Linked DNA regions of Homo sapiens: all the other regions are linked to region 1. The links are contacts of gene promoters, found by promoter capture Hi-C in blood cells and fetal thymus (Javierre and others, 2016). All regions are on one chromosome and are shown on one strand. Each heading gives the region's core, a stretch centred on a gene start or on the middle of the fragment in contact. The rest is flanking DNA. Distances are from core to core; before and after follow the strand shown.

The links. The method cuts DNA at HindIII sites, captures the fragments that hold promoters and counts their contacts. A CHiCAGO score of 5 or more calls a contact.
Region 2: a fragment that was not itself captured here is called in contact with the fragment with the promoter of H3C10 in region 1 in 17 of 17 cell types (fetal thymus, total CD8 T cells, erythroblasts and 14 more); the score reaches 41.7 in fetal thymus.
Region 3: a contact is called between a fragment that was not itself captured here and the fragment with the promoter of H3C10 in region 1, in 16 of 17 cell types (erythroblasts, fetal thymus, megakaryocytes and 13 more). The highest score is 30.2, in erythroblasts.
Region 4: a contact is called between a fragment that was not itself captured here and the fragment with the promoter of H3C10 in region 1, in 2 of 17 cell types (erythroblasts and M0 macrophages). The highest score is 8.2, in erythroblasts.
Region 5: a contact is called between a fragment that was not itself captured here and the fragment with the promoter of H3C10 in region 1, in 5 of 17 cell types (total B cells, total CD8 T cells, monocytes and 2 more). The highest score is 11.5, in total B cells.
Region 6: a contact is called between the fragment with the promoter of BTN3A2 here and the fragment with the promoter of H3C10 in region 1, in 12 of 17 cell types (M1 macrophages, monocytes, activated CD4 T cells and 9 more). The highest score is 11.6, in M1 macrophages.
Region 7: a contact is called between a fragment that was not itself captured here and the fragment with the promoter of H3C10 in region 1, in 1 of 17 cell types (monocytes). The highest score is 5.1, in monocytes.

The regions. Positions count from the first base shown.
Region 1 is chr6:27,807,746-27,811,729 of GRCh38, forward strand. H3C10 (H3 clustered histone 10) reads left to right here and starts at 2,306. Exons shown (of 1, transcript NM_003536.3): 1 at 2,306-2,791. The coding sequence starts at 2,329. The coding sequence ends at 2,739. It overlaps H2BC13 (H2B clustered histone 13), which reads right to left and starts at 184. Exons shown (of 1, transcript NM_003519.4): 1 at 1-184. The coding sequence starts at 161. It overlaps H2AC13 (H2A clustered histone 13), which reads left to right and starts at 428. Exons shown (of 1, transcript NM_003509.3): 1 at 428-922. The coding sequence starts at 465. The coding sequence ends at 857. RefSeq lists enhancers at 1-89, 690-1,288, 1,972-2,643, 2,260-2,549, 2,644-3,315 and 2 more. The HindIII fragment of the contact is 5,605 bases long and covers 1,101-3,984 here.
Region 2 is chr6:26,194,671-26,198,654 of GRCh38, forward strand. H3C4 (H3 clustered histone 4) reads right to left here and starts at 2,616. Exons shown (of 1, transcript NM_001376937.1): 1 at 2,114-2,616. The coding sequence starts at 2,580. The coding sequence ends at 2,170. It also overlaps the pseudogene H1-12P. RefSeq lists enhancers at 947-996, 1,743-2,344, 1,857-1,966, 2,345-2,945, 3,688-3,747 and 2 more. The HindIII fragment of the contact is 159 bases long and covers 1,829-1,987 here.
Region 3 is chr6:26,236,037-26,240,020 of GRCh38, forward strand. No RefSeq gene overlaps it. Among named protein-coding and RNA genes, the nearest start is that of H4C6, 2.4 kb to the right of the region's middle. RefSeq lists an enhancer at 3,984. The HindIII fragment of the contact is 583 bases long and covers 1,894-2,476 here.
Region 4 is chr6:26,297,966-26,301,949 of GRCh38, forward strand. TRR-TCG4-1 (tRNA-Arg (anticodon TCG) 4-1) reads left to right here and starts at 1,712; the gene lies at 1,712-1,784. LOC124901287 (a long non-coding RNA gene) reads left to right here. Exons shown (of 2, transcript XR_007059520.1): 2 at 1-999. The HindIII fragment of the contact is 1,637 bases long and covers 1,376-3,012 here.
Region 5 is chr6:26,325,220-26,329,203 of GRCh38, forward strand. It overlaps TRS-AGA2-1 (tRNA-Ser (anticodon AGA) 2-1), which reads left to right and starts at 2,370; the gene lies at 2,370-2,451. TRR-ACG1-1 (tRNA-Arg (anticodon ACG) 1-1) reads left to right here and starts at 2,921; the gene lies at 2,921-2,993. LOC101928743 (a long non-coding RNA gene) reads right to left here. Exons shown (of 3, transcript XR_241992.5): 2 at 3,791-3,868. The HindIII fragment of the contact is 3,995 bases long and covers 319-3,984 here.
Region 6 is chr6:26,363,482-26,367,465 of GRCh38, forward strand. BTN3A2 (butyrophilin subfamily 3 member A2) reads left to right here and starts at 1,717. Exons shown (of 11, transcript NM_007047.5): 1 at 1,717-1,871. RefSeq lists an enhancer at 1,675-1,724. The HindIII fragment of the contact is 4,055 bases long and covers 1-3,984 here.
Region 7 is chr6:26,470,143-26,474,126 of GRCh38, forward strand. It overlaps LOC285819 (a long non-coding RNA gene), which reads right to left. Exons shown (of 4, transcript NR_038992.1): 4 at 1,802-2,051. It also overlaps a transcript of BTN2A1 not described here. Among named protein-coding and RNA genes, the nearest start is that of BTN2A1, 14 kb to the left of the region's middle. RefSeq lists an enhancer at 3,693-3,742. The HindIII fragment of the contact is 2,280 bases long and covers 951-3,230 here.

The DNA of each region.
Region 1 (3,984 bases), core at 1,056-3,555:
CCGGTGTCGGGGTGGACCTGCTTCAGCACCTTGTACACGTACACGGAGTAGCTCTCCTTGCGGCTGCGCTTGCGCTTCTTGCCATCCTTCTTCTGGGCCTTGGTCACCGCCTTCTTGGAGCCCTTCTTCGGGGCGGGAGCAGACTTGGCCAGCTCGGGCATAATGAAACAATAGTGGCAAAACCAAAACAAGAAGTCGGTCTCCTCTTTTTATATAATAGTTTATGCGGCCGAGGTAGTGGGAAGGTCTCTGCTGATTGGTAATTATCCGTGGATGACGACAGATGCCAGTTTTGCCCAATCAAAATAGGTATCCTGCATAATCGAGTCCTATTGGTCTAAATAAAAATAAAACGTAAGCCAATCGCACAGCTTCCTTTTCGCGCCCAGTAGAGGCTATAAAATGTACGTTTTTCTAGTTTCACTTCAGTCTTTCTTGACCGTATAGATAATAGGCCTTTTGCCATGTCTGGGCGTGGCAAGCAGGGAGGCAAAGCTCGCGCCAAGGCCAAGACCCGCTCTTCTCGGGCCGGGCTTCAGTTTCCCGTAGGCCGAGTGCATCGCCTGCTCCGCAAAGGCAACTATGCGGAGCGGGTCGGTGCTGGAGCGCCGGTGTACCTGGCGGCGGTGCTGGAGTACCTGACCGCCGAGATCCTGGAGCTGGCTGGCAACGCGGCCCGCGACAACAAGAAGACTCGCATCATCCCGCGTCACCTCCAGCTGGCCATCCGCAACGATGAGGAGCTCAACAAGCTTCTGGGCAAAGTCACCATCGCACAGGGTGGCGTCCTGCCCAACATCCAGGCCGTGCTACTGCCCAAGAAGACCGAGAGCCACCACAAGGCGAAGGGCAAGTAGAAGCCTGGATTAGTTTGCAGCAACTCAATCCCAAAGGAACCAAAGGCTCTTTTCAGAGCCACCTACAATTTTGTGGAAGAACTGAGCACTATGTTTAATGTAATTTCTCGTCTTTGCCTACTTCTAAACCACTCCAAAGGTTACGTAGATCAGTCTTCGGTGTCTTGGTTAGGTAGTGACAATCTCGTTAGCTTTATAAAAAGCCTGGATAACATTAAAAGTATTAAACACGCCTTCATCTTAAGCTTAGTGGAAGAAAATTTAGTTTTTCCTAAGCTGGCATTATCCAAGTATGTTGAATTCTGTATGGTTCACCGTCGGGTTTTACTTTTAGTCTGTTGAAGCAAACATGTCTGCTTTGGGGCCAGATGTTTTCTGGGTCTTGGTAAATAACAAACCGGGCATTCGACGTTCAATCCAAATCTAGATCAACGACTTGGATTCTTCATTTCTGAGAAATATCTCTCGAATCTGTATAATTAATTGCATTTGAACATTAATGATTGAGTTGAGAATAATTATTAGACTAATTAGAACAGTTACTTATGGTGCCAGGTAGTTCTCTTTGAAGCATTTTCTGAAAATTCATTGAAATTAAAATTTCCCGAGCTTTCCCACCCCCAGCCACACAAATTGATTTCTTAGTACAGAGATGACTTAATTTGTTTCAGCATGGTAAATTCCACTTTTAAAATATCTGACTTGATGTTTTTAATCTGAATCAGATCTGGATGTACGAATGGAATAGATTCTTAAAAGAAAATGAATTACATTTCTAGAGTATTGGAAAAATAAGCTGCAATGGAATTACTTTAATCTAAAAGTGAAAAGTTCACATAAAGTTGTTTCTTTGACATTTTTTGGCCTTGAATTTCTCACATGCGAACCAGCTTTTCTTGGTTATAAAAATAGAAGTTTTTTAAATTTAAGTGGTCAAAAGATAGAAAATTGAGGGGACAGGTGTATAAGGCTGTCCTGTCCAGTATTGCAGCCACTAGCCAATTGTGGATAGTGATCATTGGAAATTCCATAGCATGAATTTTATATAAAATACACATTGCATTTGGAAAAGTCAGTGCCAAAAAGTGTAAAATACCTAACAATTTTAATTTCGATAACATTGAAATATGTTGGCTATATTGGATTAAGCAAAATATTAAAAATTAATTTTTCCTTGTTTTGTTACAATGTTCTCCTAGATAAGTGTAAATTACTTATATTGCTCTCATTTCCACTGGAAATCGCTAGTATAGTGAACAACTGTATAGCGAAAATAGAAAATAAAATATGGAGACCATGAACTGCTAAGTCTGTCAGAGGAATAGGTGAACAACAAAAATTTGAGTCCTTCGCCAATCCGGTTACTGTTGGGTAGGCCTTCAGCATACTTTTGTCCAATCAGCTTCAGACTCTCACTATAAATAAGCGGCTAGCTTTCTCTTTCTCCTGAAGTGAATCTAGCTCTGAAGGCATGGCGCGTACGAAGCAGACTGCTCGCAAGTCCACCGGCGGCAAGGCTCCGCGCAAGCAGCTGGCCACCAAGGCGGCTCGGAAGAGCGCTCCGGCCACCGGCGGTGTCAAGAAGCCCCATCGCTATCGGCCTGGTACAGTGGCTCTCCGCGAGATTCGCCGCTACCAGAAGTCCACCGAGCTGCTGATCAGAAAGCTGCCTTTTCAGCGTCTGGTGCGTGAGATCGCGCAGGACTTCAAGACCGACTTGCGCTTCCAGAGCTCCGCGGTGATGGCGCTGCAAGAGGCATGCGAGGCCTACCTGGTGGGGCTCTTTGAGGACACCAACCTGTGCGCCATCCACGCCAAGCGGGTGACTATCATGCCCAAGGACATCCAGCTCGCACGTCGTATCCGCGGCGAGAGGGCTTGAGTCTCAAGGACTCACTGATTACATACCCAAAGGCTCTTTTCAGAGCCACCCACATGCGCGCTGAAAAGATCTGTTTCTCTCAGGAATTCTTCCTGGTACTTGTTTTGCCTGTAGTAGATAGGGCCCATTTCCAGACGTTATACAATCTGTTTCGTAAGACTCAGCCTATCCCTTTTTGAATGCTAATTTTGGGAGTCTTAACATCTAATAATGTCCGGCATTTTTCCGTAAGCATTGAGTGTAGCCAAAAGTTCCTTCGTGTATTGCTCTCCCATCTCCGCAGCCCGGTTTTGACCGGATGGTGCTTCTAATTTTCTGCTAACCTGTACTGTGGTGTGTGTATATTTCTTGCCAACACGCCAGAAATAAAACTAAGGTTGTACTGAAGTTGGAAAAATTCAGGTTAATGTAGCTCATGCTGGCTAAAGTGAAACGTTCTCTCCCCGCCCCCCGTTCCTAAGCAGTGTTAAGTTTTCTTTGAATTTTTTCAAGCCGGATTTTGGGCCTGCTTAAACCACTTAAATGTAGTTAATGACAGATGGTTTGAGGTTTAAAAGTCTTCTGGAGAAAGCCCGCCAGAGAACATTCCCTTTGAAGCCCCATGTAAAAATACGTGTGGGAGAGAAAGTGTTTTCTCTGACTTCTGCTGACAGTGGCTAAAACTCTGAACTGTCAGGAGTATTCAAAATAAGACTGCCTTGTAGGTAAGCCTGTGGTAGTTTTTTTGAGCACAGGATAAAATACTTGAGTCTTTGCTTAAATGTTACTTTCTCAATGAGGCTTTGTATGACTAAATAAAATCTGTATAATCCCCACCTATTTTTTTCACCCTAGAATTTGTCACTATATGCTGTACCAGAGTTTGCTGATGTATTGCTTGTGTGTTCTAAAATACAGGCTCATGAGAGGAGGAACTTTTGTTTACTCGCATATCTCCAGTAACGTAGGAGCTTTTGATCAGTATTTGTTGGATAAATGAATGAATGCATGGGTATATAATAGTAAGGAGACATACCCACATGGAAAATCTCAAATGAAAGAAATACATCAGCTTGGTAGATATGCTCAAATCAGCTTCTTGTGGGCCAGGAAAGCCCTTACCTCATCCATTCTTGTATTCAGAATGCTAGATTTCTATAACTTCTTCTGTGAGCTCTCTAGCATTCTTATAAGTATTCAAGATTTTCCCTGGCAAATTGGCTTGTGTATGTGTGTTATCATCTCTGTCTCTCCTTAGCTTAACCT
Region 2 (3,984 bases), core at 658-3,157, 1.6 Mb before region 1:
CATGACAGACCCCTGAACCCAAAGACTCATGAATATTTTAATAACAAATTTCCCCCAGTAAAAATTTAAAAAAAAAATTTTTTTTTGACCCTTAAATGAGTCAAACTCTGTCTCTTTTATGTCCTTTCGTGGATCTCTCCTGAGTTCAGCTATGCAAACAGTCCCAATATCAGGAGAATCAGTGATCATTGTATTTCCCATTTTCCCAAGGAAACGTTGAACATTTACTGGAACCCTCCCAAAGTAACTAAACGTCCAAATAGTTACAAGAAGCTATCATGAAATATTTTCAGCCCCAGCTAATTTTATCAGAAAGGGCTGTTGTTCTAAGTATCCGTACTGCTGTTCTTGTGGAGAAATTCAAAAAGAACCTGTTGTTTCTCTTCTCATATAAAACAGATTTCCTCGTTAAATCTCAATGAAAATCAAGTAGTTGTTCAATGTATGAGAAGCCAAAAATGTGTAGGCTATTATTAGAAGACAGCAAACAATTGAAGACACGAATGGAAGAATTTATATTTTAAATGAAAATCAAGAAGTTGTCCCTCTGAACTGTGAATCTCTGAAAGTTGGAACTTTTGATAAAGGCCGAGGCTGCCTTAAGTAAAAACTAGAGAAAGAAAATGTAAAGATCATAACACCGTAGCCGTTCCAGTTCATTGTAGAATAGAATTGGTGTGATTCCTCCTCAGGAAATTTAAACTATTTTGATTTTCTGAATTTCCGCAAACACAACTCAGAAACAGGGTTGAGACTAGGTTGCTGCCAAGCTGAAAGACTGAGCTGGGAACCAATCAGCGCGCAGCGTGTCTGTGTGTGACACACACGTAATCACAGACACACTCGCAGCCTGACTTTTTTTTTTTTTAACTGTTAGATATCCAAACCTACAATCATGTCCGAAACTGTACATGCCGTGACTCCTGGTCTATCTCCCAAGTCAAAGACTGAAGTAAAGAAAAAGGTTGCAAGTCCGAAGTTGCAGTGAAGTGCAAGATGTCCAGGCCCCTCCGGTATGTGAGTTCATCACTAATGACTTAGCCGTCTCCAAGAAGCGCAGCGGCCTTCTCTGTGGCCGCGCTCAAGTAGGTGTTGGCGGCTACGATATGAAGATCGGCCCTTGCCGGTCGCGGTGGCCTACGTTTGTAATCTCAGCATTTTGTGAGGCCAAGGCGGGAGAATCTCTTAAGCTAAGGAGTTGTTTTTGGTGGTTTTGTTTGTCCTTGGGGATTTTTTTTTTTTTTTTGAAGGAGTCTAGCTCTGCTGCCCAGGCTGGAGTGCAGTGGTGTGATCTCGGTTCACTGCAACTTCCGCCTCCCGGGTTCAAGCCCTTCTCCTGCCTCAGCTTTCCATGTAGCTGGGACTGCAGGCGTGTGCCACCACACCCGGCTAATTTTTGTATTCTCAGTAGAGACGAAGTTTCAATGTGTTGGGCAGGCTGGTCTCGAACTCTTGGCATCACGTGATCCGCCCGCCTTGGCATCCTAAAGTGCTGTGATTACAGGCCTGAGCCACCTCGCCTGGCCAAGCTAAGGAGTTTTGAGGCCAGCCTGGGTAACACAGTGAGACCTCGTCCCTAAAAATAAATACAAATTTTTAAAAATTATTTGAATAAAGTTGGGCCTTGAAAACAAACGAGGGCATCTTCGTGCTAAGGAGTGCAGCGCCTCAGGTTCATTCCCGCCAAACCAGGCAGTGTTAGGAAAATCAAGACCGAGGCCAGAAAAGCCGCTGCAGTCATGCCCAAGACAGCTGTCCTGGCAGCCGAGAGGCCCAAGAAAGCTTGGGGCGTCCTTATTCCGAAAAAGAGTACTAAGCGGACCCCAAAAGCTTTTGCTGGTGGAGGCTGCTGGAGAAGGTTGGTTGGTCAAAGGTGGCCAAGAAAGTTCCCAAGCCGGAGGCATCCAAGCCTAAGAAAGCGGCCCCCAAAACAAGGAGATATAAGAGTACCTTAAAGGCTGTTTTAAGAACTCCCCAATTATAATAAAGCTTTTTGCACCAATTCCGTGAGGGGAGGGGGAACGGATAGAGGCAAGAATGCTTACTTACCTTGAGTGAACAGAGGTTCCAGTTTACGGACAGCAACAGTAAACAGCAACTTTTATAGAAAAGGTGGTTGGCTCTGAAAAGAGCCTTTGGGTTTTGGTTAGCACACATTCACAAGACAATTTACGCCCTCTCCCCACGAATGCGGCGAGCAAGCTGGATGTCCTTGGGCATGATAGTCACTCGCTTGGCGTGAATGGCGCATAGGTTGGTGTCCTCAAACAGCCCCACCAGGTAGGCCTCGCAGGCCTCCTGCAGCGCCATCACCGCCGAGCTCTGAAAACGCAGATCAGTCTTGAAGTCCTGCGCGATCTCACGGACTAGACGCTGGAATGGCAGTTTGCGAATCAGCAGCTCGGTCGACTTCTGGTAGCGGCGGATCTCGCGCAGAGCCACCGTGCCGGGCCGGTAACGGTGGGGCTTCTTCACGCCGCCGGTGGCTGGAGCGCTCTTTCGAGCAGCCTTGGTGGCCAGCTGCTTGCGTGGCGCTTTCCCACCCGTGGACTTGCGAGCAGTCTGCTTGGTACGAGCCATTGCGAACTTCTAAACCCTGCTAAATGACGAAAAAACGAAAGTCTAGCCTTTCGTACCCGTATATATAAAGACACCCCTGTTCTGATTGGACAAGGCAGCCTTTCCCCTGCAGCTCGATTGGTGGAGACGCCCACTCCCTGACAGAACATCTCCTGCATGTAGACCAAATATTAAAACTTTCCTCCGTCCATCTTTAACTGCTGGTGTTTTCAACCCTTTCCCCTCTGTGCCATGTTTCTAGCTTTTATTTAAAACGTACTTTGGTTTTCCTTGGCAAAATTGTGTCTAGCTACTAGGATGACGTGTCTTAATTTTTTTTTAAATGTTGGCGCTGAAACTGGCTTTGATCAACGTTTTAAAAAGACGCGCGCTAGTTGTGATTGGCCAAGTGATTTCTTTTTACCCTCTTAAGTTTAGAAAGGTTAATTTCATATCTTGATTTGTCTATTTAAACTTGGAGATATTTTCAATAATTTGTTCCAAATGCACCATGACTATTAACTCATAAGTAACAATATGAAACCTGATGTTAAGCTACATGAACACATTTAATTTCACCACAATATGTCATCCTCATATGAAAGCACTCTTATCTTTTACAAGTTCAACTGGTATTTGTGTAATCTGCTGTAAAAAAAAAAAAAAAAAAAAGCCAAATTTATAAATGGCACAAAAAGACCAGTGTGCCCTTTTAGTCATGCTGAACACTGTGCTAAGAAGCTCCACCTAAGGGCCGTCTGGCTCCAGGGGATGTAGGTTTGTATTCCTATTGATAATTAATTAGGGTTAGCTCAGTAGAGTTGAAAGTGGCTTGCAAAAACAAACCCAAAAAATACTTACAAATTACAGGTTATTTCGTATCATTAAGATGCATACAAAAGACAATAAAACATTTGTTCTGGTTCTGTTGCTTTAAGTCACTAACTATATTTTTATGTAAATGTAAACACTGACAAACATTAACTTCTCTCCTGTATGTCTCAGGCCTTTTAACAGCTTTGCAATCCTAACGAGCCGCTGCATTGATCGATTTAAATTACATGTGACATAAAGTCTCTTTGCATTTTAATTAGTTTGCTTTTTTGGGTTTTTGTTTGTTTTGAGACAGTCTCGCTCTGTCGCCGAAACTGGAGTGCAGTGGCGCGATCTCGACTCACTGCAACCTCCGCCTCCGGGGTTCAACATTTTCTCCTGCCTCAACCTCTTAAATAGCTGAAATTACAGGCGCGCGCCACCACGCCCGACAAATTTTTTTATTTTTAGTAAAGACGGGGCTTCACACCATGTTGGTCAGGCTGTCCTGGAACTCCTGACCCTGTGATCCGCCCACCTTGGCCTTCCAAAGTCCTGGGATTACAGGCGTAAGGAACCGCGCCCCGCCAATTTGCTTATGTATTTTTATGG
Region 3 (3,984 bases), core at 935-3,434, 1.6 Mb before region 1:
AAATACAAATTTTCAACATTGCAAGTGTGGGCATCAAGGGTTAGAAAGAAAAATATCTGATTTAAATCACTGTAAATTTTCATCATTCTACTTGGCTTTTTACACACAAAATATGAACTAAGCTGTCACACCCTAAATTAATTGGTTGAATATGTCCACCTAAGGAGCTGAACAAACATTTCAAAGCAAACATGAGTAACTTCAGTATTCTTTATCTGTTAGTTTGCAATACAGCTGATGGAATTAGGTTATTATTAAATAATTAAGCACAAAATTGATATTCTCCATCAAGTAATCAGATGCTGAAATGAACTCCTATGTTGAAGAAACAAGAGAAGTAGTTTGATGTTATGTTTCTTCTAACAAAAATACTCATTTCAAAAAATCAAGTTATTCTGGCCTACACTCAATAGTGATTAGAGGATTTTTTCATATAAATCCTAGATAAAATAATCAACTTTAAAGATGTCATCTCTCCTCATTCAACTAATTTCATAAAAATTACTTAGCTTGTCTTGGCCAGGCGCAGTGGCTCACGCCTGTAATCCCAGCACTTTGTGAGGCCATGCTGGGCAGACCACCTGAGTCAGGAGTTCAAGACCAGCCTGACCAACATGGTGAAACCCTGTCTATACTAAAAATACAAAAATTAGGCGGGCATGGTGGCACACGCCTGTAATCCCAGCTACTTGGGAGGCTGAGGTAGGAGAATCGCTTGAACCCGGAAGGCGGAGGTTGCAGTGAGCCAAGATAGTGCCATTGCACTCCAGCCTGGGCAACAAGAGTGAAATTCCATCTCAAAAAAAAAAATTACTAAGCTTGTCTTAAGTAATTATTTACTCTCTTGCATGTATTAGAAACAAGTCTCTGGGACTTAAGACCGTGTTATACACCACTGAAATACAAATGTGGTTTATAAAAAAGCTAAACTTATAGAATTGGATTAGTAGGACCCCACAATTCCAGTAGGGAAGCATTTTATAGGTTTCTGGAGGCAGGGGCGGTGCATCATTATGGATATCATTTTCAACAGTGATAGTCACAAGCATACTCTAAGTATTTTTTTTTGGGACCATAGCTTTATATTGCCTAGACGTAAAGGTACAATTAAAATTCAGATTGTTTACTGTTTATTATTTTGATCATTATTGTAGTCTTAATAGTTGTTGAATAATTGTTGGAATTGTTCACCGTGTTAGATATAGTCAATTAACAGATGCCACCATTTCATTCTTGTGCAACACTGACTGGTTCCCATAGCTACTTAGGATCTCAGTAAGTAAAAAGGCATTGGGCTAACTAATCTCTGCTCTTTCTGGAGGGCAATAACTGAGACTCAGTTTCACCAACAAAGTTCGCCAGATGTTCAAAGAGGAAAGGGGCTAGGCTACATAAGTTGGGACCTGGTACTTATCTTCTCTGTAATTGTAGCAAGGACAAGGTTCCTGAAAGCTGGATCACCCCATGGACTGTAAACTTGAAGTCCTGCAAAGTTTCACCTATTACTTTGGTAGCCCTCAAAAAGAGTTCTGTGTTGCTTTGGAATCCTAAATCTGAATATAATCTAAAACAGTAGATTTCCCATTACACTGAGGTTGGAACCATTTATTTTATAGATGCAAAAAGTAGCTAGGAAAAACTAGTTAGATAAGTGATAGCTATCTAACTTAAGGCCCAGTGTTCTCTTCATTTTGTGTTAACTCCCCCATCCCCACCACCACCATAGTAAATGACTATGAGAGTTGTAGGTAGTATTCAATAGATCAATCCAGTGACACTGTGCTTAAGCATCACACAATTCAGATTTTAAAGATTTCCAAAAAAAAAAAAAGAAACTATATAGAATAAATATTAAAAGGGGTGAAAACATATATAGACTATTATAGAAAATAAAGCTTTGTGTTAGAATCAAACGTGTTCAAAAAGTCCATGAGAAATCACATCGATTGTAACCGTCTATGAGGTAGTCTTACCTGAGGACACTGGCTCCTTGAAATTCCTCTTCAAGTACAACAGTATTGTGTTAATTTTATTTCCTAAGAAGGCCACTACTATACTCAAACTTACAGTTTTCTCTTTACATGTCTCAGGCATCCACCAAACTCCCTCCTCCCTTCTAGACTGGATTAGAAGCTCTTCAGAAGAAACCCCCTTATCACAGATACAGCCCAATAAAACTTTCTGCGATGATAAAAATATTCTGTATTAACACTGTCCAATAGGTAGCCACTAACCATATGTGGCTACTGAGTACCGTAATGTGGCTAGAGTAAGTGTGCAAATTAATTTTTAATTTAAATTAATTTAAATAAAAATGAGCACATGTTGCTAGTGGCTAATATAGGACAGCAGAGCTTTAAAACAATTATTCTCAAACTTGGAAGAGCATACCTACCACCCACTTAGAGATCTCATTAAAAATGTAATATCAATTCCATTGATTTGGGGTTGGGCCCGAAATTCTGTATGTCTAACAAGCTTCAGAGTGATGCCAGTATAGCTGGGATATGGCTGCTCCGCCCTTAAATACCTGACAGTAAGTAGAAGTATGCTGGTCTGATATCTGCCCCCTAACCCTGAGTGTACTTTTCCCTTTACTAAACTTTTGAGTTCTTTAAGAGAATAAATGTGATTATCTTTGTAAACCTGGTATTTGTACACTATTCTTGGCATGTAGTGGACATTAAATTGTTGAATGAATGAATGATGCTTGTTTGGTGCCTACCTCAAAAAGGAGAGCACTTGAGATCCTTGTGTCTATTCCTACAGGTAACTGAACCTAAGCCAAAATTTAAGTAGACTCTTAACTCCACAAAATGAATAATCTTCTCACTGCTTTTAGGCACCAGCAGAGACGGGATTTTTAAGTTACCCTTGCAGTATATAGGAGGCAATGAATGTGAAGCAGTAGACTGTAAGAGTTAATGTTGAATTTTTCTACTACACATACCCTATGATCTGTGTGTAGAACACTTCTTCCGGAATCTTTTATTAGGACAGTATTTCACAGAATTTATTAGTATTATTTTTGTTAATTTACAAACCTTTATTCACCATGATTTACCATGTATGCTTTAGTGGCATGAAAGCAGTGGTAGGTAGCAAGGTAGTGAGACTCCAGAATCGAGCCAACAATACAATGCCATTTATTAGAGGATAATGTCTTCAAGCCTGGGATTCCTTATCTTTACACCTCAGATATTGCATTATACATTGAAAAACTAAGAATGAAACTTCAATTAATATTGGTTTCCCTTACTAGAGGTCTTTCTTTATTAGGAATGCCAAAAACGATGTGAATGTATATGTCTCTGCCAAACGCTAAGTCTCATGATTGGCCAAATTTAAGAAGTATTGCTACATTTTAAGAATTAATAAAAATGGCCGGGCGTGGTGGCTCACGCCAGTAATCCCAGCACTTTGTGAGGCCAAGGTGGGTGGATCACCTGAAGTCAGGAGTTCGAGACCACCCTGGCCAACATGGCGAAACCCCGTCTTTACTAAGAAAATACAAAAATTACCCAGGTGTGGCGACGCGTGCCTGAAATCACAGCTACTCGTGAGGCTGAGGCATGAGAATCGCTTGAACCCAGAAGGCGGAGGTTGCAGTGAGCCGAGATAGCGCCACTGCACTCCAGCCTGGGCAACAGAGTGAGACCCCGTATCAAAAAAAAAAAATTAGTAAAAATACATTTTCAAAGAATCTTCACATTTAAAAATTAAAGCTAGGCGCCTGTAATCCCAGAACTTTGGGAGGCCGAGGCGGGTGGATCACCTGAGGTCAGGAGTTCGAGACCAGCCTAGTCAACATGGCGAAACCCCATCTCTACTAAAAATACAAAAATTAGCCGGGCGTGGTGACGCGCGCCTGTAGTTGCAGCTACTGCAGGGGCTGAGGCAGAAGAATCGCTCGAACCCGAGAGGCGGAGGTTGCAGTGAGCCGAGATCACGCCACTGCACTCCAGTCTGGGGCAGAGCAAAACT
Region 4 (3,984 bases), core at 944-3,443, 1.5 Mb before region 1:
CACAAACCCTTTAAAACATACCCAGAATTCAACCACTCCTTGATACTTCTACAAACACTACCCATAATGGTTTATGGGTCATCCAGATATTATAATAGCCTTTCAATCAATCTTCTCCAGGAAGGAGAAAGAGAGAGCAACAAAGATTTTTGCAGAATAGAAGAATATTGTTAAATAATTATCACATTGGCCGGGCGTGGTGGCTCACGCCTGTAATCCCAGTACTTTGAGAGGTCAAGGTGGGAGGATCAGCTCAGGTCAGGAGTTCGAGACCAACCTGGCCAACATAGTGAAACCCCGTCTCTACTAAAAATACAAAAATTAGCCAGGCATTGGTGGTGGGCGCCTGTAATCCCAGCTACTTGGGAGGCTGAGGCAGGAGAATCGCTTGAACCTGGAAGGCAGAGGTTTCGGTGAGCTGAGATGGTGCCACTGCACTCCAGCCTAGGCCACAGAGTGAGACTCTGTCTCAAAAATAATAATAATAATAATAATAATAATAATAATAATTCTCACATTGAAGATGATTGCAGAATTCGAAAATAAATGAGAAATTCGGCATATTTTTATTGAGCTCCTACTATTTGTCAGATGTTATTCTATGGATAGGGAAAGAAAGACTATGTAAAAGGCCCAATTTCTATGCACCAGAAGCCGCTATATTTGCTAACCAAGAGAAACCAAGACTTATCACAAATGAGCCAGGAGAGCCATTATTCCCAGTATCTGGGGTTTAGGAAAATTAAGGAAATGTCTTATATGTAGGCTGTTGACATTATCTTCAAATGAAGTACTTGACTTCACAGAGATTCACTGACAGGCTTGAAAGAAGCCACACAAAATAGAACTTTATATGCCATGATGGGGCCAAGAGCGCTACGGAACATTATAAATTCTATAAATATCTTCTCCATAGTATGATGCTAATGCATTACATTTTCGTGTTGATTCATCTATTAAATGTAAAAATTGTTAATAATAAAAATTTTTGCATTTCTATTTCGTGTTCCTTCACTTCTTAATATATGGGAACCTCAAAAACTGGTAATGGCTCTAGTCCGCTCGGCACTCCTGAGAAACCCCAAGGAAAGTATTTTCTTTCCTTTCTAAACAGAACCATACCACGAAAAGTGCTCTGATATCACATTATCACAATCAGAGAAAGTACCAGAACAGCATGGAGAGGGGGTAATTGTCTCCGGGGTCTGCAGATATCCATGCAGGATGGCGAGAAAGACCACGGTACAGATGTTGCCTTGTGGTAAAACTGCCTTCCAGGTACAGTTTTCTTAACAACTATCTGGGCAGACCCTGCAAGAACCTAGTCTGTAAATGGTGAATGTGGATGAGCATCATAGGGAAGAAACCTTGAGTAAGCTTATTTTAACATATCCTTCGATGCAGACAATATGCAGAATTTTAGCATCTTTTAGATGCCATAAACTCCGCTTCTTCTGCCTTGGGAGTCAGAACAAACGACTTTTCTCTCCAAGGAGTAGTTATATTACCACAAGACTAAAATAATTGTCGATACCAACCGTTTATAAATCCCGATTCTGTGGCCCCAAATATCCCACCTAATCTAAAGTTTTCATTTTCTCATTGGCGAAAACACGGGCGCTGTAGATGCCAACACGGGGGGTTGGAGGGGGCGGGTGGGGGGAAGCTCGTTTTATTTTCTAAGTATTGCAGCAACAACGGAACTGCGGGGGACCACGTGGCCTAATGGATAAGGCGTCTGACTTCGGATCAGAAGATTGAGGGTTCGAATCCCTTCGTGGTTAAGTGGGGTTCGTTTTCGGGCATGAAAATTTTATTACCCATTTCATTCCAAGAAAAAAATAAATCATACACTCTCTGGGTTTTCTGAATCCTTTTTTTCTTCCATCTCCTCTCCTTTAAAGGGAAGAAGGAGACATTCTCAAAGGCCTTAGGAGAACAAGTGACAGAGTGAAGAAAGACTGGAAAGTCAAAACTGAAATACAGCCATCTACTACTTTGGAGCTGTCAGGTTCTCCCCAAGTTTGGATTTTAAGCACCTGCGTTTCGGTTTTGTAGGCTTAGATTCAATTCAAGGATTCAATTCCTTGAAAAAAAGAAATTCAGATCTATAAGCCAAGCTGTCTCAAACTGTAGCGTCTCAGACTAATGCCAGGCCCCAGTGGCTAGCACAGTAGGAAACCTGTTGCTTCTTCTGATTTAGCACTAGGCCAAAAACTCTTCACATTTCTTTTTTAGTCTACATCCGCGTGTACCAAGGAGTTTTGGCAGCTGCTGAAGCCTATGTTACTAGTTCTTACTCTCCATTTTAACTTTTTTGTTGTGGGTGTGTTGCCATCAAAAGGATGAGAATACCTAATATTGAATTTTATATTGCAAAGCAAAAATATAAAGGTAATTAAAATAGTCCAACTGGTTACAGTGTGTGTGTGCAAACAGGAAAAGACAGGGAACACAGCTGTGCAAAATATATAAAAAACATTTTGTATTCCTAAATAACATTTTGTGTGCCTGAATTTAATAATAATTTAGGATTAAGGAAAAGTAATTTCCAATTGCTGACATCATGATGAAACATAAGACATTTGACTCCATCCAGATGAGATCATTGATTCAAATCACATGGAGTCCATAAGTGTGTTTCTAGATCAAAGCAAAGAATATTAAAATTAGTAATAATTACCTCTCCCTGTCCCCAGCTTCTTCCATAGCTCTGTTTGATTCTGGTTTCCTCTAGTCATCTGTAGATTCCAAGTTGTATAAAAAATGTGGGGATTGAGCATTGGTTTCCAGACTTTGAAATTTATTGGATTAGAAAGTGTCAATGTCCTAATGTCATGCAAAACCATGTTCTGCCTTGTTAATGGCAAAACCCACCATTTGCACTGAGCATCCTTTTATAAACTAGAAAAAGGATATAACCTCAAAAGAAGAGTAACCTTTTAAAATGAATACAGTGATACTTGAGAATTACATAGCCCACCTTTTTTCTTGATTCTAAGAACAGGAAAAAGCTTCCTCCTCTCTCTCTGATCAGTATGTAACCCTGTGTACCAGAGGATGAACAAGACTTTTTCCAGGGGCCCCACAGCCTCCCTCAAGCATTTAATGAAAGTGGAAATTCTGATGCAAGAATATAAAAATTTGCCTGTCATAACCCTTTCTCTCTTCTTTTTCTTTCTTTCTCTACTGCACTGATAGCAAAGAATGCCAAAAGGAGGAGAGAGACTTTCCAGACTGGGAAGTGCCAAAAGGGAGAAAACTGAAAAAGATAGGGAAATCTGTGGACATCCTGAGTCTTAAATGGTCACCGTGATTTAGGAACTTGTCCCAAATCCACCAAATAAAAATATATGCACCCTTTGATGAATGTGTAAGCCTTTCTGCTTTGAGAGTGGGATTCAGAAAATAAATAAATAAATAACATGAAAAACATCTTTTGGAGCTGGATTAAAAAAAAGCAACTGGAAGAAAATAAATCAAGAAGAAAGATTTCTAGATGTGTATCACAAACACTGGGAGTTGGGTCCAGTTGCACAGGGGATTAAGAGATTCATGAATTTAATAGAGTAGCCCCCCTTATTTACAGGAGTTATGTTCCAAGACCCCAGTGGATGCCTGAAACCTTGGATAGTGCTGAACTCTATATACACCATGTTTTTTCCTATACATACACACATATGATAAAGTTTAATTTATAAATTAGGCATTTTAAGAGATTAACAACAATAACTAATAAAACAATTATAACAATCTACATACAGTAATAAAAGTTATATGAATGTGATCTCTCTGTCTCTCAAAATACTTTATTGTACATTACTCACCTATTTTCAGACCTCAGTTGACTATGGGTAACTGAAACCACACAAAGTGAAACCTCAGATAGAAAGGGGACTACTGTAAATGTTTATGGAGCACCTACCCTGTGCCTGCTTCTCTCCCCAGCCACTGTGCTAGGTACTGGGATTCTAGAATATAGGA
Region 5 (3,984 bases), core at 1,066-3,565, 1.5 Mb before region 1:
CTAACTTAGCTCTACTTACATAATCTGCCCTCAACTACATTTCCGGTGTTATCTCTCATCAATGCCCTTCCCAGTACCCCTCCAAAAAGCAATGTTTCAACTAGAGGGAACTTTCTTCAGTTTCTCCCATATTCCTTGAGGTTTAGGTTTGGAACACTACCCTACCCCGTTTTCTCACCCCACACCAATTTGTCTCATTTTAACACATCCTTCAGATCCAGATCTGAGCTTAAGTATAATTCATTCCAAAAATACTTAATTAAGCACCTATGGAGGACTCAGAGGTAAAGAAGGTAAAACTAGAACCTTTCTTCGTGAAGCTTGGAGTCTAAGTGACCCTCCAGGCAACCACCTAAAACCTTTGTGGTTGAGATCCAGAACTCTTTCTGTGGGCTACTTACTGTGTTAGGGCTGCACTTCTCACTTGCACTCAGTTGTTTTATTGTTAACTTCTGTAATCCTTTAGAAATCTCGCTCTCCATTGAATGAGCAGTACCTAGCAAAGTGCTTGGCTTTTGCTATTTCACATAAAAAGAATTTGAAAAAAATAGGCAATTCTCTGTCTCACTACCCATATACAAAGTGCTTATTTTTATTCTAAAAAAATAAAATTTTTGGAAGAATGAATAAATGAATATATTATTTAAGGGATCAGGAACTGGAGGCCAAAAGACTAAGAAGTTGTTGCAATAACTTAATGAGAAGTTTCTCATGAGTACTTCTAAGTACCTAAACTAAGTACCTCATTTTAAAAAGTGGTCTGAGTAGCTGGGCATGGTGGCACGCGCACCTGTAATCCCAGCTACTAGGGAGGCTGAGGCAAGAGAATTGCTTGAACCCGGGAGGCGGAGGTTGCAGTGAGCCAAGATCGTGCCACTGCACTCCAGCCTGGATGACAGAGCGAGGCTCCGTCAAAAAAAAACAAAAAAAAAAGGTGGTCTGAGGGCTGGGGAAGAAGAGCCAGATTTGAGAGCTAATTAGAAGGTTGAATTGAGGGCCTGCTGGGAAGGGAATCAGAGAGACATAAAAGGACAAGGGTAGTCTTCGGTCTTGGTAGCCAGTCTTCGGTTTTGGTATCTCATCAAAAATTTGGATTGTTGGAGGAAATTTAAGTTTGAGGAAAATGATGGAACATTCCTTTGGGGTTGCATTGCTTTTGAGATGCCCATGGACATGCAAGAAAAAAAAATAGGACAACTGTATATTCTGGAGCCCAGAGGAGAGAGATCTGGAGTAGAGACGATTTTCAATCCATCCGCACATGAGCAGTAGTTCATCAATCATTCCTTACCCTTCTTCTGTTCATAGAGTTGGGCCATTGATGAAATACAGAATCCCTGACTTGCTCACTAATACTCACACACACACACACGCATAGTATTGTGGTAATGGTAGTGCAGTTTTAGAACCTGGGGTTCTGCTCTTCCTTTGGAAGTGGTCTTTGAATATAATTTCAAACTATTCACAGAATATCAGATGCAGTTGTTCTTCCCCTTGTGAGAGAAGGCCCCATAAACGAAAGAGGATTTGACCAGCAAAAATATTTTTTACTTTCTAGTTTCTTTCAGAAATGTTCTTTCAGCTGGTTAAAATATTCTGAGTTTTATGAAAAGACAGAAGCCTATCTTCACTGAAGAACCTTTTGATGAATCTAGATTCTGGGGTTTTACAATGATAGTTACAATTGTACTGACATTTGTTGAGCCGTTAGTATATCGCAGGCACTGGACTTTGTCAGAAAATATAGGGGATCTCTGTGGAACATCAGTGTTATTTACTGAGGATAATTTTCTTTCTTTTTATTTTTTTAATCTATTTTTTATTTTTTTTTTACCCCCGAGACGGAGTCTTGCTCTGTCGCCCTGGCTGGAGTGCAATGGCGCGATCTCGGCTCACTGTAAACTCCGCCTCCTGGGTTCAAGCGATTCTCCTGCCTCAGTCTCCCGAGTAGCTGAGATTACAGGCGTGCACCACCACCTTGGCTAATTTTTTTGTATTTTTAGTACAGACGGGGTTTCGCCATGTTGGGCAGTTTCAAACTCCTGACCTCATGATCTACCCGCCTTGGCCTTCCAAAGTGCTGGGATTACAGGCGTGAGCCACCGCGCCCGGCCTGAGGATAATTTTCTTACTAGGCAAAAATATGAGAATTGTAAAAGTTGTTGAAACATATTCCTGATTTGCATTATAAAAAAGACCCAAAGAACATTCTTAGCGTATCATGTATGTGCCTGAATTTGAAGTTTGTTGATTGCTTCCAAGTTTTATTCTTAAGATACGAATTCAGCTATTATTAAATCCCTAATAAAAGGAGTACAATATGTGATGTATGGAAACATGTAAGACATTTAATAAGGTTTTTGGTATCTGTAGTCGTGGCCGAGTGGTTAAGGCGATGGACTAGAAATCCATTGGGGTCTCCCCGCGCAGGTTCGAATCCTGCCGACTACGGCAGTGGGTTTTTGCATCTTCAAGCAGGTTTCATCCGACCGATCGATATTTCACGTGTAAAAAGGCTTTCGATCTTTTACAAGTTAACATCAAAATGGATTTCTTGGGGATTCAGGGCAGGACAATTTCAATTTATGTCTCAGAGGTCCTCAAAATGGATTTCTCATTGCCCAAAGTAAACCTTATCTCTGATCTTTTACAAGTTACATCATAATGGATATTTCATTGTTCAGGAAGGAATCATTGTGCACAAGGATGGATTTCTCATTACCCACGAAGGAATCATACTTCATGAGTAAAACAAGTCAAAGGAACAAATAAAACTATATTTTGTTTTAATTGGAGGGTTTTGGGTTCAAAATCCTTATGATCAGAAAGAAATAAAATTTCATATATTCATGTATAGGAGGACGCGGTAATCCCAAAACGTTTTTTTCTATAGGTATAACGCCTGTCTTCGTTCGTCAGAGGGCCAGTGGCGCAATGGATAACGCGTCTGACTACGGATCAGAAGATTCCAGGTTCGACTCCTGGCTGGCTCGTTCGACTTTAGTGGAAACTTTGAGGTTTACATAAATGCCCCTTCCCTGGGCACTCATATACATTTTATGTATTTTATCATTTTAATTTTTAAAAGAATTACACAAGATGACAAAAATTTTTATAATATAGACTCCAGCTTCAGTTCACTATTGTTTTACATACATAAGAGTTTTTTTTTTTTAAATCACATCACTAAATTGATAAGTTTCAGAACTGACCAATTTTCACATTGCTTGATAAAACTTAATACAGGGGAATTTTTTTTTCTTTTTTTGAGATGTATCACTGTGTCGCCCAGGCTGCAGAGCAGTGGCGCGATCTCAGCTCACCGCAACCTCTGCTTCCTGAGTTCAAGCGATTCTCCTAGCCTCAGCCTCCAGAGTAGCTGGGATTACAGGCATGTGCCACGACACCCAGCTAATTATTTTTGTATTTTTAATAGAGAGGAGGTTTCGCCATGTTGGCCAGGCTGGTCTGGAACTCCTGATCTCAAGTGATCAGCCCGCCTCGCCCTCCCAAAGTGCTAGATTACAGGCGTGAGCCACCACGTCCGTTTGGGAAAACCTTGTGTCATTCTGTGAGAGTTACGATTGAGAATTCACAAACAGAAAATTTCTAGATAGCAAACAATTTTGGTTTCTTTTCTATCCTTTTCGCATACTCATAATTTCAAGAATCACTTGAAACAAAAATCAAGTCTCTTCTCTGCTCCCTGTCCTCTAGCAATTTTTAAAGTTATTGAAACATATTCCTGATTTGCATTATAGAAAACACCCAAAGAACATTCTCAGCTTACCACATATGCGCCTGAACTTGAAGTTTGTTGATTCCTTCTAAGTTTTGTTGGCAGGACGTGAACTCAGCTATTAAATTCCTGGTAAAGCGAGAGGTACAATATGTGACATATAATAACATGTACGACGTTTAAGAAAACTTTTGGCACCTATAGTCGTGGCTGAGTGGTTAAGCCTACTTTTTAAACATTTAAAT
Region 6 (3,984 bases), core at 467-2,966, 1.4 Mb before region 1:
TTCATTCTTACTAATACGATCTCAAGCAGCACAGCTTCTGATAGAGTCTGAATTTAAAAATAAACAAATGAACAAATAAACAAATATTGATGGATGAATAGGGGTGAACAGCAGGATGGATTTATAATAAAGTAAGAAACTAAAATATTAATTATACAATCTACATGGTAGATATATTGGAATTTACTGAAATTCTTTCACCTTTGCTATATGTTTTAGAAGTTTTATAATAAACTGTTGGGGAGGGGGAAGGGGGAGGGAAAAATTGTGTTTTTCTGTTGATAACAGAGACCAGAAGTACCACTGGCTTAAATAAAACAAGGATTTGTTTTCCTTTCATGAAAAACAAACTTATTTGGAAATTTACCCTGAGTACTAATATATAATAAAATATTTTAAAAGAAAAAATTTTTTAAATAAATTTAGATGGTGACAGTCCAGGGCTGATCTGGCACCTCAGATATGTCATTCATGCCCCAGCCTGCTTCTGACTTCATTCTCTGCTGTCCCAGTGTGTGGCTTCCAACCTCAAGGCTGCCTCATGGTCCCAGGGTGGGCTACTGCACCTCCGGGTCCAAAGTCCATGTTCTAGGCAAGAGGAAGAAGGAAGAAGGGAGAGTGTACCCTCACACTCCCAGCTATTTTGGCCTCCCTTTGAAGGATTTCTGGGAGAAGTACAAGCCCACAACTTTCACCTACAAACCGCTGGCTCCAACTTAGTCCCTTGGCCTGCCCTATCTTCAAGGGGGAAGAGCAGGATGCAGTACCCCAGAAAATTAGGCCTTGTCACTAAGAAGAAGGGGGCATGCACGCTGCAGAAGCAACCAGCCATCTCAAGCAGATACCACACAGCCTAAATTCAAACTGTTGCAATATAATCAAATCCCATCAGCTCCAGTCACATATTAGCTCTAGGAGATTTCTGGCTTGCAGCCCAAAAAAGTGTGTTTTGAGGTCGTAAGCCACAGGGAGAACAAGATTGTCCCATAAACTCCTTACAGAGATGGTGTACAGGAAACGAGCCTTACAGAGACCACAGCCTATGGAGTGTCTAGCTTCAGAGAATATGTACTCCACTGGCAGCGTGAGAAACAAATACCCAAGAAAATACAATATAGCACAAACCAGGAGCTGAGGGTGAATGAAGATGCTCAGAAAGATCTGCAGTAAGAATTTCCTGGGAAAGGTAAAACAATGTCAAGCAGCACTGCCTCTGGAAATCAGAAAAATTATATTATTTGATACCATATCCTAAGCCTAAATGCCAGAAGTTCTTAAAGAGGTGCAGTTTGTCTCATTTTCTTTCCATTCATACCTTTATTAGGCTCTGTAAAAAAGATCCTCCTCTTCTACGTACCTATCTACATGCAAGCAAACTGCCACAGAAGCATCTTAATTAGTGCACATCTTCCTCTCTTTGCACATTAAATTTTTTTACTTTCCTACTCCATTCTGCTAATATTTCTATTACCATGTAAAAGACACGAGACAGGTGAATATAAAGAAATACTTATATACATCCACGCACAAGAATGATTCAAATAGATAAACACAGAAACACAAACACTAAGGGAGGTAGGGCTGGAGTTTTTCCTCAACGTGTACAATTCAATGTACTTTCAGTTTTCATTTCAACGTTCCTCAGTGGTTTCTGCCCAGCAACTGATGAGAAACATCACCTCTGAGCCAATCAAAAAACTAATTCTTCCAAAGAGCGACTCTTACTGTTTCTCATGGTGAGAAGACAATATTTGCTTTCTCTTTTTCCTTTCTTCCGGATGAGAGGCTAAGCCATAATAGAAAGAATGGAGAATTATTGATTGACCGTCTTTATTCTGTGGGCTCTGATTCTCCAATGGGAATACCAAGGGGTAAGTGCAGGAAATTGATTAGAGCCTGGGCTACAACGCATGGGAGGAGCGGGGCTGAATCGCTGAGAGTGGTGAGTGGGCATGCAGGGAGAGTACTCTCCCAGAGAAAGGGGTGCAGTGCCTGTGTGTGTGTGTGTGTGTGTGTGTGTGTGTGTGTGTGTGTGTACATGTGTACATGTGCACACTCGCACATGCACATATGGGCACGTGGGAAGACGGGAGAAGTACTGCAAAGTATAAGGAACTGCAGAGGTTGGGATTTAGTGGAAGGAAAGGGAGACAACATGAATGAAGAAATATTCCAACTGCATGTTCTTAACGTATTGTGGTCAGAAAAGGGCAAACAAACAAACAAACAAAAAACCCTTAAAATCTGTTCTGGCCAACTCAAGGCATCTATTCTGAGAAATTCTGAAGAAGAAGAAGAAAAAAGAGATGTGCCTCATAGATTTATATGTAAATGTGTTTATTACAGAAGTATTTATAATATAGTAAAATCTGAACCAACATACATATTCAACAGGTGGGGAATAGACAAACAATGCATGGTTCAGTCATAAAACATGTTCCATGTAACCATTAGGAATCATAATTTTAATTAAGTGAAATTCTTTATAATTTTAATAACACTGGATCCTTATATTAAACCATTTTTGGTATCTTTTAGGGATAGTACTTGGTTTTCTTTCCATTCATCATTTCCCCAAAACCTAAAGCATGATTTCCCATGGTTACAAGCTACTACATTGTATGAATATATAATTATTGGGAGTCTCTGTGAGCCTACTCTGACTCAGAAAGCCGCTCCTAAAGAAGAAAAAAGAACAAACAAACAAATAAAAAACCCGAATTATTTTTAAAACTCTTTATTTTGGATTTTTCAGTTTCTACATTTTGTTACTGTAGATTTTACTAGATTGAACAGCCTTATCCATAAATATTTGCATCAATCTCTAAATTTTTTTCTTCAACACTAACTTTTATAGTTGGAATTTTGGGGGCAAATAATACAACATTTTAAAGGCACTTGCCATGTGTACATGGCCAAATGCTTCCAGAAACATTTCCACTTCCATTAGCAAAGTATATAACTACAGAGTATTTAAGGTTTTATTCCTTTATATTTTTTTCTTTGGCAAAATTGTCTATAGTAGAAAGAATGAATAATAAATAACCTAAAAAATAAAAGTTCTCCCTCTGAGGACAGCAGAGAAATTTTTAGCTTAGCTTAATAATACCTCCTTCTCCTTAGGAGAATAAAGAGCAGTTTCGAGGAGCAGAAGATGTGGTGAAATATAATGTTTAGTCTGATGGTGGATGCAAGATCCAGGCAGGGGTGGAGCATGACCAGCTGCACAGACCTCTGTTCCCTTGCTTCCTCTACATCTCTCCCCACCTCCATCTGCAGACCTTGTTCTCAGAGGCCATTCCCAGACCCACAGCAGCTGGTATGATGGCTGCAGGCCTCATGCTCCTTTGTTTTGGGAGAAACTGTTGAGGAGTTAGTATTTACTGAGCAGCTAATATGTTCCAGTCACTATTATTCCTCATAATAATTAGTTATTAACTAATACATGAAAATTTTAAACTTAAAGCATTCCAATAATTTTAAAAGTAAAGGAAGCAAAAGGCCAAAGCGTCCTTTCACTCACTTAACCTCCAATTTTCAGTTTAGCATCCATCATTTTAGACTTTTTCAGGCATTTACATATATAGTTATGCAGAAATGTATAGCTTTGCTTTTGTTTTTCAATTGAATCATTAGTATAGTTCTGCAAGGTGCTTTTTAATCACTTAGTATATCTCCATTATCCAGGCTAGTGACATTAAATCACTCTTTTTAACTGCTGCATTGAATTTCCTCCTAGGGATGAGCCATCATTCCTCTAACCAGTCTCTTGTGAGTGGCTGGTTCAGTTGGTAACCACTTTTATACTTTAAAAATAGTGCTGCAGTGTCATTCCCACAGAGGCTTCTCTCTGCACCCATGCGAGTACTTCGCTGAAGTAACCATCAGGAAGTGGAATTGCTGGGCCAATTGTGAACATTCTAAGTCTCATACTCGATATTTTTGAGTAACTAAAGTTGAAATGGTTTTGTCCCATGACTGAGA
Region 7 (3,984 bases), core at 841-3,340, 1.3 Mb before region 1:
TTCAAGACCAGCCTGGTCAACATGGCAAAACCCCATCTCACTAAAAATACAAAAATTAGCCAGGCATGGTGGCGGGCACCTATAATCCCAGCTACTCAGGAGGCTGAGACAGGGAATCCTTGAACCCCAGTGGGGTGGAGGTTGCAGTGAGCCAAGATCGTGCTGCTTCACTCCAGCCTGGGTGAAAGAGTGAAACTCCCGTCTCAAACAAAGAGGGGGAGGGAACTTATGTCAGAGACCCCCCCCACCCCACCCCAGGAATCCTGAAACCATATTTGAGAGTTGGGATAGAGGATTCGGGAAGTAAATCAATGTGATGGTTAATTTTAGGTGTCAACTTGATTGGGTTAAGGAATACCTAGACAACTGATGGAGCATTATTTCTGGATGTGTCTCTGAGGGTGTTTCCAGGGGAGACTGGTATGTGAGTCAGTGGACTGAGTGGAAGAGATCTGCCATCAATATCTTTGGGCACCTTCCAATCAGCTGTGAGCCCAACAGAGCAAAAGGCAGAGGAAAGGTGAATTCTCTCTCTCTCTCTGTCTCTCTGGAACACTCTTCTCTTGCTCTTCAATATCACAACTCCAGGCTCTCCGGCCTTTGGTCTTTGGGACTTATACCAGTGGCCCTGAGGTTCTCAGGCCTTGGGTCTTTGGACTGAGTTACGCCATCAGCTTGGTTCTGAGGCTGTCACACTTTGACTGAGCCATGCTGCCAGAATCTCAGGGTCTCCAGCTTGCAGATGGCCCGTCATGGGATTTCTCAGGCTACATAATTGCATGAGTCAATTCCCTTAATAAATGCCCTCTCATGTCTGTATCCCCTATTGGTTCTGTCTCTCTGGAGAACCCTGACTGAAACGATCAGGCATCTAAAATGCTGGCTTAAATGATAGTGTTTTGGATTTTAGACAACTCAGTAATCCAGTTGTAAAACTGGGTTGAACAAAAAGCTTTTTAAACAGTCTGAAATTATATTACTGAAATTACAAATGACACATTATGGGAAGAATCAGGAACATATATTTAAATACCTGATTTGTTAAGGCAGAAAACAGGGTTGTTTATGTGCATGTTTTAGTCTGCCCAGACAGCTATGACAAATATACCAAGACTGAGTCGTTTATAAACAACCAAAATTTTTTTTCTTGCACTCTGGGGGCTGGGAAATGTAAGACCAAGGCACCAGCAGTTTGGTAACTGGTAAGAGCCTGCATCCTTGTTCACAGCCTTTTAAATGTGTCCTCATATGGCAAAGGAGAAAAGTAGATCTTTGGTTTTTGTCCCAAGAAACTGGAAAGATGGGCCGGGCACGGTGGCTCACGCCCGTCATCCCAGCACTTTGGGAGGCCAAGGCAGGTGGATCACTTAAGGTGAGGAGTTCGTGAACAGCCTGGCCAACATGGTAAAACCCTGTCTGTACTAAAACCCAGAAGGTGGAGGTTGCAGTGCACCACTGCACTCTAGCCTGAGTGGCAGAGTGAGACTCTCAAAAAAGAAAAGAGAGAGAAGGAAGGAAGGAAAGGAAGGAAGGAAGGAAGGAAGGAAAAGTAACTGGAAAGATGAAGTTGTTAATTTCTGAGATGGGGAAACGGAGAGACAAGGAGCAAGACGGGAGTGGTACAGAACCAAAGGTTCAGTTGTGGATACATTAAGGTTGAGGAGTCTATATTAGAGATGCACATGGAGATGCAGAGTAGTCCATTGAATAACCAAGAGTCCAGGTGAGACCTCAAGGCTGGAGATAGAGATTCCATACTCAACTTTCCTATATGTTTGAAGAGTTTCATGATACACTGTAGTGGGTAGAGGGAAGAATTGTATTTTGTTATTAATAACAGTCCTGAATATCATTGGCTTTGACAAAATGAGGACTTCTTTTCATGTCAATAAATATGGATGGTGGCCATCAAGGGCTGATCTGAGAGCTTGAAATGTCATACATGCCCCAGCTTAGTTCTGTCTTTATTTTCTTCTGTCTTAGCATGTGGCTTGCATCTTCAATGTTGCCTCATGGTCACAAAAGGGCTGCCCAGCTCCAAAGTCCATATTCTAGATAAGAGGAAGTAGAAAGTAAGGGGAGTGTAAGGGTCTACCAGCTGTTTTAGCCTCCCCTTAAATAATCTGTCTGATAAACTTCCACCCTCAAGCAATTGGCTCAAACTTAGTCCCTTGGCTTCCCCTGTCTACAAATGAGATGGACACCTTGCAATAAGAAAATGGGATTTTATTACTGAGAAAAGTAGATCTGTTATTGAACAAGCAGCCAGCCAACTCTACCACAGAGCCTAAATTCAAACTGTTGTAGTATCATTTTCTACCAGCCAAGGTTTCAGCTAAGTCCTAGGAGTTTTAATTACTTTAAGGGTCTGTTTTATAACATAAACAAATGATAGGCCTTTATATTTTATTTGTGACCCAACTAAAGTTGCAAGTGCTAGTGATACAGGATTTTTATTTGTCACTTTGCAAGCAGGGGACCTCTGGCCAGCAACACCCCACCCAAGCCTCGCTTGGCTAAACTGGCATGCCCCAGCTCACCTGTGTTATAGCTTATACCCACGTTCAGCAGTTCCTGAGCTCTTGTACCATGCCCAAGAAGAATGAGGATACACTAGACGTTGAAGGGTGAGGAGGGCTGAGAAGAATTTTATCAAGCGACTGAACAGCTCTCAGCAGAGAGGGGATGCTGGCACCCCTACCTGAAGGCAGGAAAGCTCCCCCTGTGTGGCTGGGTCCAGGCCTGTTTTATGGACTCAGAATGGGAAGTGTGTGCTGAATGGTTTGTGAGTATGCAAAAAAGGTTAAAGTGAAGACACCACTCAAAGATGGCCACAACAGTGTAAAAAAACAATTAGGAAAGTGTGGGTATATGGAAAGTAGTTGAAGGGTGGGGACCAATCAGAGGAAAGTGCACCAAACAGGAAGACAAGTTCTCAACAAGTTCTCAATTTGGGCTGAGGATTTACCTTGTAGTTTGGCTTTCAGGCTTTAAACTGTCTTCAGCTTGGAGGTGGGGTATCACTGGGGACCCATTGCTACCTGCCTAGGCATCTGACTGCCTCCTGTCTGCTATCACTAGGTCCCAAGGTTTGTAGCAAGGACCCCTTACAAAGACATCCCCCACAGTCTACCCAAAGGTTAACCTTAGAACATATTTCATTGTCAGAGTGAGAAACAAATACACATGAAAATACAGTATGGCACAAATAAGGAGCAAGAGGTGAAGAAAGCTTCAGTCACACCCAAAATAATTTTGTGAAAAATATAAAATATGCAGTTATAGACAGCACTAACTCTGGATACCAGAAAATTCTATAATTCGGTAATGGATCTGAGACCTGAATTTTGGAGGTACTAAAATAGATGCAATAGATCTAGTTTTCATTATGTTCATACTTTCATTTGGCTCTGTGGTAAAAGATGATAATATCCAAAACAAAAGATGATAATATCCTCCATGTAACAATTACATGCAAGGGGATGTCTGCAAACTGCCACAGTATCATTTTAATTAATACCTATCTTCTCTTCTTAAAATCTTTTCATTTTTCCACTCAGTTCTCCTGATATTTCTGTTATGATATAAAAGACAGCTGAATGTGAAGAAACACTGATTGTACACGTAACACACACATTAATGATTCAAATATGTAAACACAGAGAGCTGCAAACACTTTGAGAGGTAGGGCTGAAACTTTTCGTCAATGTGTACAATTCAATATCGTTTCAGTTTTCATTCTAACCGTCCCCAGTGGCTTCTGCCCAGCAACTGATGAGAAATGGTACCTCTGAGCCAATCAAAACACGAATTCCTACAAAGAGGATTCTCTTAGTGTTTCTCGGACCGAGTGTACAGCACATGCTTTCTTTTCCTTTATTCTGGATCAGAGAATCTTAACTAAAGCAGAAATAATTGTGTTAAATTAAACTAAATTTGGTATGAGATATGTATACATTTAGCCTGAGGGATGGCTCTTGAGCC